Linked DNA regions of Homo sapiens: region 2 is linked to region 1. The links are contacts of gene promoters, found by promoter capture Hi-C in blood cells and fetal thymus (Javierre and others, 2016). All regions are on one chromosome and are shown on one strand. The core of a region is centred on a gene start or on the middle of the fragment in contact, and the rest is flanking DNA. Distances in the headings are between cores, read along the strand shown.

Region 1 (6,931 bases), core at 3,506-6,005:
TCATGGTACTGATGTTCTTTAGTAAGTTAACTGCACAGTGACTGTTCTGATCTTAGGCCACCAAAATATTTATTCTACTTATACCAAAGCATTTTGCAAGATGAAACCAAATTTGGTTTTGGTTTGTTTCTGTTTCAAACACTCCTAAATTCAACATATAAAGTAGCATAAGCCCGATAAAGCAGGCCACAATCAACTACAAATGTCAATTACATAAATGCAAATGCAATTATTCTAGCACTATAAGCTTCTCTGTACGACTGGACCTTATTAAGCACTGTGCCAGCAACATAGCACGCACTGGAGAAACCTTCATTTTGTTGGTGATCTAACTCAATGCTGATGAAATCACCCTAGTCTGGTAACAAGACACGTAACACCAGGGGCCTGGGCCTAGCTCGTGAAGAGGACCTAAACCTAGAGTTTCACAGACCTCCAGATTTTCACCTATCTGGGCCACTTTAAGTGGCTTGATTTCAGAAGGAGGTTTGAATGGTTAAAATCCACATAAATTATTGGATCAAATGAGTTTTCCTCCTCTGGGCAACCCTACTGAGACACTGGTCAAGCTGGGAGATAGAAAATCAAGCGGGACCAACATTGGTCATGTGATCGTAAGTACAAACTTGTTTCCAGGCAAACTTGTCCAACCCATGGCCCACGGGCTGCATGAGGCCCAACACAAATTCACAAACTTTCTTAAAACATTATGAAATTTTTTTGGTGATTTTTTTAGTTCATCAGCTATTGTTAGTGTATTTCATGTGTGGCCCAAGACAATTCCTCTTCCAATGTGGCCCAGGGAAGCCAAAAGACTGGACACTCCTGTCCTAGAATATTTAATTTGGGTCTGCCAGAGAGGTTAAAAGAATCGTAACTTTTTAAAAAGCCTGTAATTTTATTTTTATTTTTACTAGATATGGGGTCTTGTTATACTAACCCAGGCTAGTCTCAAACTCTTGGCCTCAAGAAATCCTCTCACCTCGGCCTCCCAAAATGCTGGAAATACAGGCATGAGGAACCACACCCAGCCAGCCTACAATTTTAAAACCTAAGGCATGTAAGGAGCAAATGAAAACACCTTAGGATAACAACTATTTCCATAAATTTGCAAAATTACATCTGAATATCTTCTTTAATATTTAATTATAAAGGAATCATTATAACTTCAGGTATCTAAATAAAATCAAGATGATTATTCATGTCTACAAATGGTAAGAAACAGAATACACAATCTAAGCGGTTCCTAGTCCTCTACATACTCAGAACTATTACAGCATTCCTGTTATATGATTCATGTATTTTAACAGCACTGTTTCTTCATTTGAAACCAATCATGTCCATAGAAAATCTGCATAAAATTTTAAAATAACTAGAAGCATAAGAACAGATAAATTTTATTTGAATTAATTACACTCACTTTTTTCATTTATGACAGGAATTGATCACTTGTCTTAAGGAAAAGAATCTTAAAAACATGGATTAGACACAAGACTAATCAATAACATACTACAATCAGCTTTTTTTTTTTTTTGTGACAGTCTCACTCTGTCGCCCAGGCTGGAGTGCAGTGGCGTGATCTTGGCTCACTGCAACCTCTGCCTCCCAGGTACAAGTAATTCTCCTGCCTCAGCCTCCCAAGTAGCTGGGATTTCAGGCATCAGAAACCACACCCGGCTAATTTTTGTATTTTTAGTAGACACGGGGTTTCACCATGATGGCCATGCTGGTCTCAAACTCCTGACCTCAAGTGAACCTCCTACCTCGGCCTCCCAAAGTGCTGGGATTACAGGCATGAGCCACAACGCCCAGCCTAAAATCAGCCTTCTAATGTTAGCTAACTAATGGAATAGTAACATAACATTAGCTTCTGACAGCAGGGTGCAGTGGCTCAAGCCTGTAATCCTAGCACTTTAGGAGGCCGCAGTGGGCAGATCTTTTAACCCCAGGAGTTCAAGACCAGCCTGGGTAACATAGGGAGACCCAGTCTCTACAAAAATAAAAAAATTAACTGGGTGTGGTGGCACAAGCCTGTAGTCCCAGCTACTCGGGAGGCTGAAGCAGGAGAACCGCTTGAGCCCAGGAGGCAGAGGTTGCAGAGAGCCGAGATCACGCCATCGCTCTCCAGCCTGGGCAACAGAGCTAGATCCTGTGTCCAAAAAAAAAAAAAAAAAAAAAAAAATCAGCTTCGGTTAACATTCCCATTCTAATTTAATATTTAAAAACTCATATATACTACAAATACAGGGCTCATTACCTTGAACCCCTAAAAGAATTCATTAAAATATAACTGGCTTGACTTTCTAAAAAGAGTATCTGACACAATCACAAAACAAAAAATTTTAAATTCAATTTTTAAAGTTTTTTATTTATTTAGAGGCCAATTTGAAACTATAGTGGAAATCAGGCTAATACTTTTTTAAAAAGCACATTTAACTGAATTTTAGCCGCACATGTAACATGCGTTTATGGTTAATTTAGTTTAAATATAGTTTAATAATACTTGCTTTGTTCAAATAAAGAACATTTTTCCAATAATTCAGAAAGGTCATGAAGTCCTCTCCATCTTCCCTCACTCCCTTATCCTCTGTCTCATAGGTAACCATTATGAACATTTCTTATGTATCCCTCCAAAACTTTCATATGCGGATACAAGTTTGTGGACATACATCTTTAATAAGGAACACACACTTAAACTGAATCATTCTAAAACCTTTTTCAACTTAAAATCTTAGACGTTTCCATAGCAGTGGATCTGCCTTTTTAAAAATATTACATTCTTAAAAACCGTCACATTAATATGTTTTGTTTTTCTTTTTTTTTTTTTTTTTTTTTGAGACGGAGTCTTGCTCTGTCGCCCAGGCTGGAGTGGTGCGATCTCGGCTCACTGCAACCTCCGCCTACCGGGTTCAAGCGATTCTCCTGCCTCAGCCTACCGAGTAGCTGGGATTACAGACGCCCACCACCATGCCCGGCTAATTTTTGTATTTTTAGTAGAGACGGGGTTTCACTATGTTGGCCAGCCTGGTCTCAAACTCCTGACTTCAGGTGATCCGCCCGCCTAGACCTCCCAAAGTGCTGGGATTACAGGCATGAGCCACCGCGCCTGGCCTCAATGTACGTTAACACTCTTTTTACTCTAGTCCATTTTTAACACAGTTCAGATGAAGCTACCATAATTATTGCTTGTAAAATTGTGTAACAAATCTAATCAAGGGCAGTATTATGGCAGTAAATACCAGCTCTTTTCCCCCTCAACAATTCAGATTCCAAAGTGTTTTGTTCAAGTAAAATGAACTTTAATTCATACATCATATTTATGGGAGGGAGGGGAGAAAACTCACAAAATGTTGCAACATCAAAATGGTTAGAAATCACTATAGAAGTCATCCAGAATAAATAATATTTCCATCTTCTAATTTGCTGACTTTGCTACCCAAAATACATTTTTTTTTAATCTGGCAAGAGGGAGGTCTGAATGAAACAATTTTTTTTTTTTATAATTGAGACGGAGTTTCACTCTTGTCGCCCAGGCTGGAGTGCAGTGGCGCAATCTCGGCTCACTGCAACCTCCGCTTCCTGGCTTCAAGGGATTCTCCTGCCTCAGCCTCCCAAGTAGCTGGGATTACAGGCAAGCACCACCACGGCCGGCTAATTTTTGTATTTTTAGTAGAGACCGGGGTTTCACCACGTTGGCTGGGCTGGTCTCGAACTCCTAACCTCTGGTGATCTGCCCGCCTGGGCCTCCCAAAGTGCTGGGATTACAGAAACAATTTTCAAATAGTTTCTAAATCAGTGCTTTAGTCAGATTTTACAATTTTTGAATCTTAAAGGCTAACATTACCTGTATACTGAAACGAAGGGAAAAAAGGGGGCTGGGGGTGGGATAATCAACACTAATTAACTTCCCCTAAGGCTAGTGGAATTAACACTTGAGTCTTGCGGGATCCTAGGTCACCCAAAACCACTCAATGGAACATGCTGGTCTCCGTGGGCCTACTCCTGGGCCAAATACTAGTATGTAAAACAAAAAGTGAACGATGCGCTGCCGATCTGGACCCCTTCCCTCGAAAAAACTAATAAAAAGCCCAACAAACACAGCGAAAGGGCTGAGGTCCACACTCCATGACAGCACTTCCCTTTTTTTTTTTTTTTTTTTAAGTAAACCCGCTTCCTGCTTCTCGTTTGGTGTATCTTCAACTATACAGGAAGAGGAAGGCCTCTAGGTCTTTCTCCTTTTTACAAACCGGTGGCCCTGGGGAAAAGAGCCCTTCTCGGAACACACAAACCGAGCCTTTTACGCTTCCGTCCGCTTTAGCCCAATTGCCCCCGCATTAGCGCGGAGCAGGTCCCTGCCGGGCGGTCAGTAGGCTCCATGTCCAGTGCCGGTCTCGCCCGCCGCCCCCACCCGGAAGGGTGAGGGGGTGGCAGGCTAAATGGGTGGCAGGCTCAAGGGAGACCAGGGAACGGCCGGCTCGCTCCCACGCCCGCGGAGGTGGGAGGCACCGCCCCGCGCCCCTTCGCCCCGAGGGCCCGGAGGTGCAGCCCTGGGGGCCGAGGGCCCGTGCGCCAGCTGCTCGTCCCCGCCGGCGTCTGTGGCCGCCAAGGCCTCCTCGCGCGGCCCTTACCCCGGTGCCGTTGTCGCACACCACCACCTTCCTGCCCTGGCTGTCCATCGTCCGCCCAGGGAAGAGCCGCTGCAGCCGCACAACCTACAGCCACCGCCGCCCGGCCGTTTTCTCTTCTTCCTCTTGCGTCTTCCCGGCCCCTCCTTCGGCCCAACTTTTTTCCCCCGACCGGAAGCCGCCGCCGGGCTCCGCCCGTCATTTAGCTGAATGCCTGCACGAAAAGGGTGGGACGGGCAGGCAGCGCGACTGGCAGCGGTGAGCTCCAATAAAAGATGGAGGAGCGTCGAGGCCCCTCCCGCAGCTCCGCTTCCGGCTCGGCTGTCACGGTCGCTGCCCACCCGGGTTCTTCGCTGCTTCTAGTTCCGGGCGCTTTGCCGGGCGTTAATGGCGGCCAACATCGCCGGTGCTGCGGCTTTCTCCCTAAAGTGTCACAGGAGCTAAGGGCGCTGCTTAACGAACTGCAGAAGACGCAGGCAGGTGAAGGACACCGGTTCTGCTGCGGCAGTGGAATGTGGCGGAGAAGCTGGCGGGTAGGGCGGGGAGCAAGCCTGGAGGTCCTGGCGGACCCCACCATTCGACAGGGCTTGGTGTGTTATTGCTTCTAGGCCTTTTCAGCGGACAGAACTGGGATGGATACACACATGCTTATTTGAAATCATGCGTTTGTTCCATACTCCAATGTCAGCCCACCCCTTCTTTGCCCAAGTTGCTCTATGGTCAAGTGAGCGAGAGCAGGTGCCTGCATTTCCAGCCTCGTGGCTCACCGCCTCCTTCCAGTAGTCCCATGTTGCTTCACACCTCTTAAGTACATGTACTTCTGTGAACCCAGAGCCTTGGCTTTGAAATCAGACAACCCCAGTTTCAAACGTGGCGCTGCCACTCACGAGTTTTGTGATTTTGGCATACCCCTGTCTGCATGGGGATAATAACTTCTATCTCCATAGGTGTGGTGAGGATAAAAGTCTATGCATGGAGGAAATGTTCATTCAGTGGTAGCTATTTCTAATTCTGTTCTTCTGGACCTATGATTCTATCTACGATGCCTCATTTTTTTTCCTTTTTAATCAATTGGCAAACTTGTGCTCTGAGACCCAGCTTGTTACATCTCTGATGACAGCTGATATCCTCAGGATATTCCGTACTTCCTTTCTCCCTATTACTTTACTATGAATATATGAATAACATTGTGCTTATTGCATGCAACAAATATTTATTAGATGAATGACATTAAAATTCACCTTTAAAATGCCATCCTTTATGAGAGGTGAGAAATAGAACTTTTCCTTCGACATGGCTGTACATGTTCAACAACTAGAATAAAACAGTCATCATGAACCCTCAATCCAGTATTCTTTTTATAATATAGCTGCCTGTCAGTTTTCACTGTTCTTTTATTAGACCAGTGATTTTCAAACCTTTTTAAAGGCATACAGTGCTTTATTCAAATCTAATCTTATATGGAACCCTCAACACATAAATATTAAGATAAAAATAAAGCTGCCATTGTTGCAATTAGAAGTTTGAGAGGTTAGAATAGGTAGGAAGTCTCGGAGGAACATTTCTTCGTTTTACCTGCTTTAACAGTCAGAGAAGTACCTCAGCCAGCAGAAAAATTTATTTGTTCATAAATTCCTTGAGTATAGAGTCCGTATCTTATTTTTGTGGCCTCCAATGCTAGTGCTGTGCAGTTTTCTTGAAAGTGCATTTTATTGGTCTCAGCAAATTGAACTCAAGCATTTCTGTGTTCTTTTACTTTTCCTCTTTGTGGAATTAAGGGGATTGCTAATTTGTATTTTTAAAGAAAGAACATTATTCCGGGCGCGGTGGCTCACGCCTGTAATCCCAGCACTTGGGGAGGCCAAGGAGGGCAAATCACCTGAGATCAGGAGTTCAAGACAAGGCTGACCAACATGGCAAAACCCCGTCTCTACTAAAAATACAAAAATTAGCTGGGCGTGTTGGCACGCGCCTGTAATCCCAGCCACTCAGGAAGCTGAGGCAGGAGAATCGCTTGAACCCGGGAAGCAGAGGTTGCAGTGACAGAGATCGTGCCACTGCACTCCAGCCTGGTGAGAGCAAGACTCTGTCTCAAAAAAAAAAAAAAAAAATTGGCAAGTTTGGCCCTAAAATTTATATGAAATGAAAAGGAACCAGAATAAAAGGATTTCGAAACAGAAAAAGATGGAGAACTTCCACTACCTGAATTCAAAACTTATTATAAAGCTACAGTAATGAAGACTGTAATACTGGCATAGAGGCAGATATATCGATCAATGGAATCAAATAGTCCACAAATAAACCTT
Region 2 (6,543 bases), core at 395-2,894, 3.0 Mb before region 1:
GCAAAATGGTGAGACCTTGGCTTCCTCGATGCACCATCCCTCCCCCTACTGCCGCCGTCCGGGTCGGGTGCGGGGGCGAGCCCCGACGCCCCCGGTCGGCTGTCCCCCGTGGAAAATTCCAGAGACCCGGGCCCGGCGGGTCCCGCGGCGGTTGCGGGCGAGCCGGAGAGGGCGGCGGGGCGGCTGCTGACAGGACGGCGGCGGGGCCCCCGCGCCCGCCCCCGGCCTCTGCGGGGCGCCCCTCTGCTGCTCGGCCGCCGCCCCGCCGTCGCCCCACCCCCGCGCCGCCGGTCCCGCCCGGCATCGACCCCCGCGGGCACCGCTGACCATCAGCCCGGCGCACTCTCCTTCTCGCGACCCTCCTCCACGTGGAGCACCCCCCTCCCCTCCACACTCACTCTGTTTTTCGAGTTCGAGGGTATTCTGAAATCCTTTGGAAATAACAATATGTGGCAAATGGCACTTTACATAAGACCCACTTACTCTCCAGAGCTGCTGCTGCTTCCACTCACTGCCTGTTTCCCAGCAGTGAGTCTTGGCAGGGAACCCTGCCACTCACTTCCCCTCTCCTGCGAGCGTCGGTTTAGCTGCGGTGCGCAGCCCTGCGGGGTTTCCGTTCGCTGCTGCTTTGCTCGCTGCCCTGGCGAACCGGAAAGATCCAAGGTGTTTGTTCACGAAAACATACGCGAACTTGGTTTGGGAGAAATGGGGGCGCTTAATTTTTCATGCTTCCGTTACTACCAAGGGTTTTTTCATTTTCTTTGGTACCTTCTTGTGTCTCTCTCTTGGAGTGGTTGTTTTTGAATCATGGCGATTTTAATTTGTCTTTCCTTACCCTCACATTAATCCCTAGGTAGAATTCGCTGCTGTAGTGTTTCAGACCGACGCTAGGGGTGTGTCTCCCGCCTCTGTCGCTGCAGCCAAGAAATCAACGACGCCCTTTTAGCCTGTTACCTTACCGGTTCTCTCGCTCGGGGAAGCCCTAGTCGTTAGTTTCCTCTTTGTAATCAAGAGTTGTATACACAGTAGAGAAAGTTCAGAGTGCTATTCCGCGTATATCAGATACTCCATCATGCGATTCAGTTATTAGGCTTTCTCTAAAAGTCTTTGAACAGTTGTCAGAAGACTTAAACTGGTTGACGGTGGGTAATTTCTCGCATCTTTTCCACTGTATGGTATCCCACCCTGTATGTAGAATTTAAGTGCTTCAGTGTACGTGGTGGATTACTGAAGGGAGGAATGCTGTTGCTTACAACTTAAAATCGATTTGGTGAAATCGATTTTAAGGGAAGAACGTGAAATTAGAATATTCAGGTAAGTCAGCTTTTATTTAAAATATAGGGCAAATGAGTAAGTGCTTACTGGTGCACTTAAAACCCAGATTAAGAGCAGACTTAAATGATTGCCGATTTTGATGTGTAGAGAAAGTTTTTCCTTGCCAACTTGCGAGGCAGCTCAGAGAGGCAACTTTGGCACCTGAAAGTCACAAAACAATTTAGGAAGATCATAGCCATTCATCATATAATCTTTTTGTTGGCATAGTCTTTTGAAGTGAAGAATTGCATTTCAGTGCTTTAATAGAATTTCCTTATGCACATGCTTTACTTGAAGGTCAGGATCTTGAAGATCTTTGTTCATTGCAGGGAATGTTTTTACTTAGCTTTATAAACAGCACATTTGAGGAACAATGATCTAGCCTTTTGTTGTTTATATATTATACAGCGAAGTGGTATGGTTTCCAAATAGTAACTCTCTTGCGGTGCACCCCGTCCTCTGTTTTTTGAACAACAGACTGAAACTGGGAAGTTCTCTTTTAGCTCTTCAATTTCTTATTTTCCTGTTAACTCTGTTTTCTTGTCTTTTAAAATATTTTACGGTGTATCAGACGATGTTGTTTCCTGCCAGGTCATTATGTTCCTTTTCTTCCCAGCTCCCTTTTCAGTATTTATTTCCTAATTCAACTGTTGGGTTTTTTTTTTTCCTCTTTCATCCTCCCAATACCATTTCAGGACCTACATAATGTTGGCAGTGGCTTTCCAACTTTAGGGTTATTTTGGTCTGCTGAATACAGTACTGGTTTGAAAGTATCAAGACCATACCCATAACTCAACTTTGCCATATGGGATGTCGATTAACCCAAATAAATCAGGCTTTGGAGTGATCTGGTTAATTTTTCTGGTTAATTGAACATACAATTCTGAAAACTTTCACACCCTTTGGAAAATCTCTCTTAGAACTCTTATTATTTACATTCTGTCAACAGCATTTACAGTATGAAATATCACTAGTTAATTCAAGTATGGAAAGTAAAAAGGCTTATAAGATTTAAATGTACTCTCAAGGATCTTTTCTGACAGGTATTAATTTTAGTTGGTGCCTTAAACGTAGTTTATTTTTTTTTTTCCTGAAAGTTAAAGTCTTTCCCTCCCTTCACCCTTATTTGAGTTTTAAATTGTTAAGCGTCCAGGGAGAATGAAGGTTATATGTTAAAAAAAAAAATCTTGTAAATAGTGAGCTCCTAGGAATTTCCCCTGAACGAGGTGTTTTATATATGTTTTTGTTGAAATAGATAATACGGATTTTGTTCTGGATACTTAAATGAACATAATATAAAGGTAATTGTTTTACGTTTTGTTTCTTAAGGGAACTTTAAATTTTATAAAGGCCTTTTCATGTCTTTGTGCTTTTAAACTTTTAAATTTTTTTTTATCTCCATGATCTGCATCTAGAACTTAAAACAAATTTATTGCCGTCTATAACTGTATGTAGAGTTTTACACAACATATTCTAGTTCAGATTCTGTGGCAAAGGCCACTTTTTAGAAAAAAAAAAACCTGTCTTATGACCAGCGGAATTAAAATTCACATCTGTCCTGAGAAAATTTATCCACTCATTTTGTCCCATAGTGAATGAGAAAATTAAAATGGTTCAAGGTATAAAGTAAAGAAGCTGACTAAGGGTCAGTCAGCAATGAGAGGGACAGACAAGTATGGAAGGATCAGGCAACTGTTATAGGTAGTAAGGCAGTATAAGGAAGTCACCTTGGGCCAGGAGGATATTAAGTCAGACAGTGGGCCTGGAGTCTGGGGCAAGCAACAGGGATTCATTCCTATCAACAAATACTTGTAGATTTTGTCTGCCGTTTACTGGTTGTTGTGCTCTCTGTTGTGGAGGATATTGCAATGATTAAGGCAGGTTTCCTACCTTCATTTAAGTAGAGAATGTAAGACAAATGGCAGTAACCGTGAAGTAAGTTAGCATGTGATGAGTGTCATATGAATAGTACACACAAAGCATGATAGAAATTTAAGAAGGAGCAAGATCATTTTCACCTGGGATTAGGAAAAGTTTTATGAAGGAGGTGGTAATTGAGCTAGCTGGGTCTAAAAAGATCAGCGTTGCAGTAGGCAGAGTTGGAGGCATCTAGAAGAAGGCACTTTAAATCCTAAAGGGAGGAAGAGACAATGTACATTTGGAGCACTGATGGTTCCCGAACCAACAGCAACAGCATCATCTGGAAACTTGTCAGGCCCCACCCTGGAACAACTGAATCCAAAATTCTGGAGATGAGCCAAGCAGTCTTAAGTTTTATAGGTCTTCCAGGTAATTGTGATATAGGCTGAACTTTGAGAACCACTGTTTAGAGAATAGGAAGGAATGTGTAAAGTTGAGTCAAGCGTCTCTTAATGTACCTAGCACTAACTATATGTACTTAAGACATAATTGTTATCTACAAGGAAATTAATCAAGTAGGGTAAATAAGACAGTGATTATGCAGTGTGCTATGTGCTATTAACAGACTAAACATGGGATGCTGTAAGAGCACATGGCAGGGAAGAGGCTTAATCCACACTGGGGATGAATGTCACTTAAAGTTTCCTGGAAGAAATGGTGTCTGAACTGAGTCTTGAAAGGATGAGTATTTAGCCAGTGAGGAAGGGCACACCACATAGAGAGCTTCTGTTCGAAGTCATGGAAGCATGAGATATACAAGCCATCCAGAGAACTACAGTGTTAGTTTAGCGTGGCTGGAGAGGAAGGGGGTAGTGTCTGGTGGATTGACACTAGATCATAGAGGGATTTGCATATCATGAAGGAGTTAATCTTTTTTCTCCTAAAAGCAGTGGGAAGTTATTTTCAAGCAGGAGAATGACATTGTCTCATTTACTTTTTTAAAGAGACCATTCTGATGGCCGGGTGGATAATAGGATAGATGAATCTAGACATGAGGATTCAGAAATAATTATAGTAATTTATATGAGACAGAAGGATGTGAAAGAATACAGTAACAATGCAGATAGATAGTAGGGATCCTACAGGAGATACATTTAGGCGGTAGAAGAAAGAACTTGGTAACTATTGGATTATGGGGAAGAAAAGAGGTGGTGAATTCTGCTTTGGTTTCTGGCTTTGGATAATGCTATCCACCCAGCAAATATTTGTTGAGCACCTACTTGGTTAAGGTTAGGTTTTAGGAATACATGGGGAATACTGTTCCTGTCCTCGAGAAACTTCCAGTTTGCTGGGATGACTATTGTTTCATCTCTAGGCTTCTATTATTTGGTAATTAGTGCTTGGGATGCTATGTTGCAAGACTCCAATTTCAATAGGATAGAGTGCTGTGAAATATTAACAGTGCCTGCTACATACATGTCATGGCCTAGGAGAAACAGAAAGAACTTGATAGCCTGGAGGTAGAAAGAGGCACATGTGTTTGAACAGTGATTCTCAAGAAGTGGATCCTGGACTAGCAGCATCAGTATCATTTGGGACCTTGTTAGAAATGCACATTCTCCTAGGAGATGTAGGAGAAGAAGGTTTTGGGGGAGTGATGAGAATTTTTATTTTTGCACATGCTGAATTTAAAGGAATCATGGGTGGGCTAGGCACAGTGGCTCATCCCTACAATCCAAGCACTTTGGGAGGCCGAGGCAGATGGATCTTGGGCTCAAGAGTTCCAGACCAGCCTGGGCAACATGGTGAAAGCCCATCTGTACAAAAATACAAAAATTAGGCGGGCACAGTGGCACACGCCTGTAGTGCCAGCTACTCAGGAGGCAGAGGTGGGAGGATGGCTTGAGCTTGGGAGGTGGAGGTTGTGGTGAGCCAAGATTGTGTGACTGCACTCCAGCCTGGGTGACAGAGCAAGACTGTTTTGGGGGGCGGGAGGTGGGCAGGGAATAGTAATCTTGGGTTATCTAGGTGATTATGGCCAACAGGTAATTGGCTACCTATATCTGGAGCTCATAAGAGACATCTGGGGCTTGCATTAAAGATTTGAGCATTGTCTGTGCATTTATATTAGGTAGTAGTTGAAGCCGTGAAACTGGATGAAATCCTGTGTAGAGAGAATATAAAATGAGACGTGAAGAGAGTGAACTCTAAAGATGGTGCATGTAAAAAGGCAGGTAGAGGATGAGGAGCCTGTGAAGTTTGTCATTGAATAGCCAGAGAGATAGTTGGGAAATGAGCAGCATAGCATGATGCCAGATTGAAGGGAGTCTTAAAGAGGAAGGAGTCAGCAGTGAATAGATACTGCAGAGATCAAGAAAGAGAACTTAAAGATGTCTTTTGGAGATAACAGGAGAGTTTTGATGACTTGGTCAATAGTAGTTTGTTGTAATGGTGGCAAGGGAAGCCAGGAGGTAGTGAGACATTGAATTTAGATTGCTTTTTAAAGCTTTGAGTAGCAGAGAGGGTGAAAGCTAGAGAATTTAGTTTTGAGGAAGGATTTATCTTGGGGTTGAAAGAAAAAGTCAGAGCCGGGCACGGTGGCTCACTCCTGTAATCCCAGCACTTTGGGAGGCTGAGGCGGGCGGATCATGAGGTCGGGAGTTAGAGACCAGCCCGACCAATATGGTGAAACCCTGTCTCTACTAAAAATACAAAAATTAGCCGGGTTTGGTGACGCGTGCCTGTAATGCCAGCTACTTAGGAGGCTGAGGCAGGAGAATCACTTGAACCCGGGAGGCGGAGGTTGCAGGGAGCTGAGATTGTACCAGTGCACTCCAGCTTGGACGACAGAGCAAGACTCTGTCTCAAAAAAAAAAAAAAAAAAAAAAAAAGAAAGAAAGAAAAAGTCAGTAAAAAGGGTAAAAAGGGAGAGATTATCTTTTGAATCTTTTCAAAGAGAAAAGACAGGATTATTGACAACTTAATGTCTCCAAGGAGGTAGAAGGGAGTTTATGACTCTCCTTAGACAAGAAGGGGAATTTTTCTCATCCTTTTAACATGAAAGAGAAGGAGAAAAAGATGAAAACTATTATGTAGGTCATATAAGAGTTTAGGCTGGAAAGGAAGTCATGTGTTAAGTTGTAAATGGTTTAACTGTTTTGAGTTCAGTTTGGTCCCATTGGGGAACCATTGATTAATCTGGAAATAAGATGCTGGGTGACTTGGAAAGGGTGGAAACTAGATGAGGTGAGTTCCACAAAGGAATACTGCTTTATAGTATTACAAGTATGAAGTTATAAGGATTTGAAAGCAAATAAAAATGGAGGCATTTTAAATATAGAGTTGAAAAGAGTTAGAAACTGATGATGA

The links. The method cuts DNA at HindIII sites, captures the fragments that hold promoters and counts their contacts. A CHiCAGO score of 5 or more calls a contact.
Region 2: a fragment that was not itself captured here is called in contact with the fragment with the promoter of ACTR2 in region 1 in 1 of 17 cell types (M2 macrophages); the score reaches 5.0 in M2 macrophages.

Annotation. Positions count from the first base shown.
Region 1 is chr2:65,225,655-65,232,585 of GRCh38, reverse strand. It overlaps ACTR2 (actin related protein 2), which reads right to left and starts at 4,755. Exons shown (of 9, transcript NM_005722.4): 1 at 4,629-4,755. The coding sequence starts at 4,676. LOC124907779 (a long non-coding RNA gene) reads left to right here and starts at 4,987. Exons shown (of 2, transcript XR_007086461.1): 1 at 4,987-5,105. RefSeq lists enhancers at 3,824-3,913, 3,986-4,874, 4,875-5,764 and a silencer at 4,414-4,603. The HindIII fragment of the contact is 6,982 bases long and covers 250-6,931 here.
Region 2 is chr2:68,245,590-68,252,132 of GRCh38, reverse strand. PPP3R1 (protein phosphatase 3 regulatory subunit B, alpha) reads left to right here. Exons shown (of 6, transcript NM_000945.4): 1 at 1-8. The coding sequence starts at 6. PPP3R1-AS1 (PPP3R1 and CNRIP1 antisense RNA 1) reads right to left here and starts at 530. Exons shown (of 2, transcript XR_001739527.2): 1 at 399-530. RefSeq lists a silencer at 172-281. The HindIII fragment of the contact is 8,076 bases long and covers 1-5,682 here.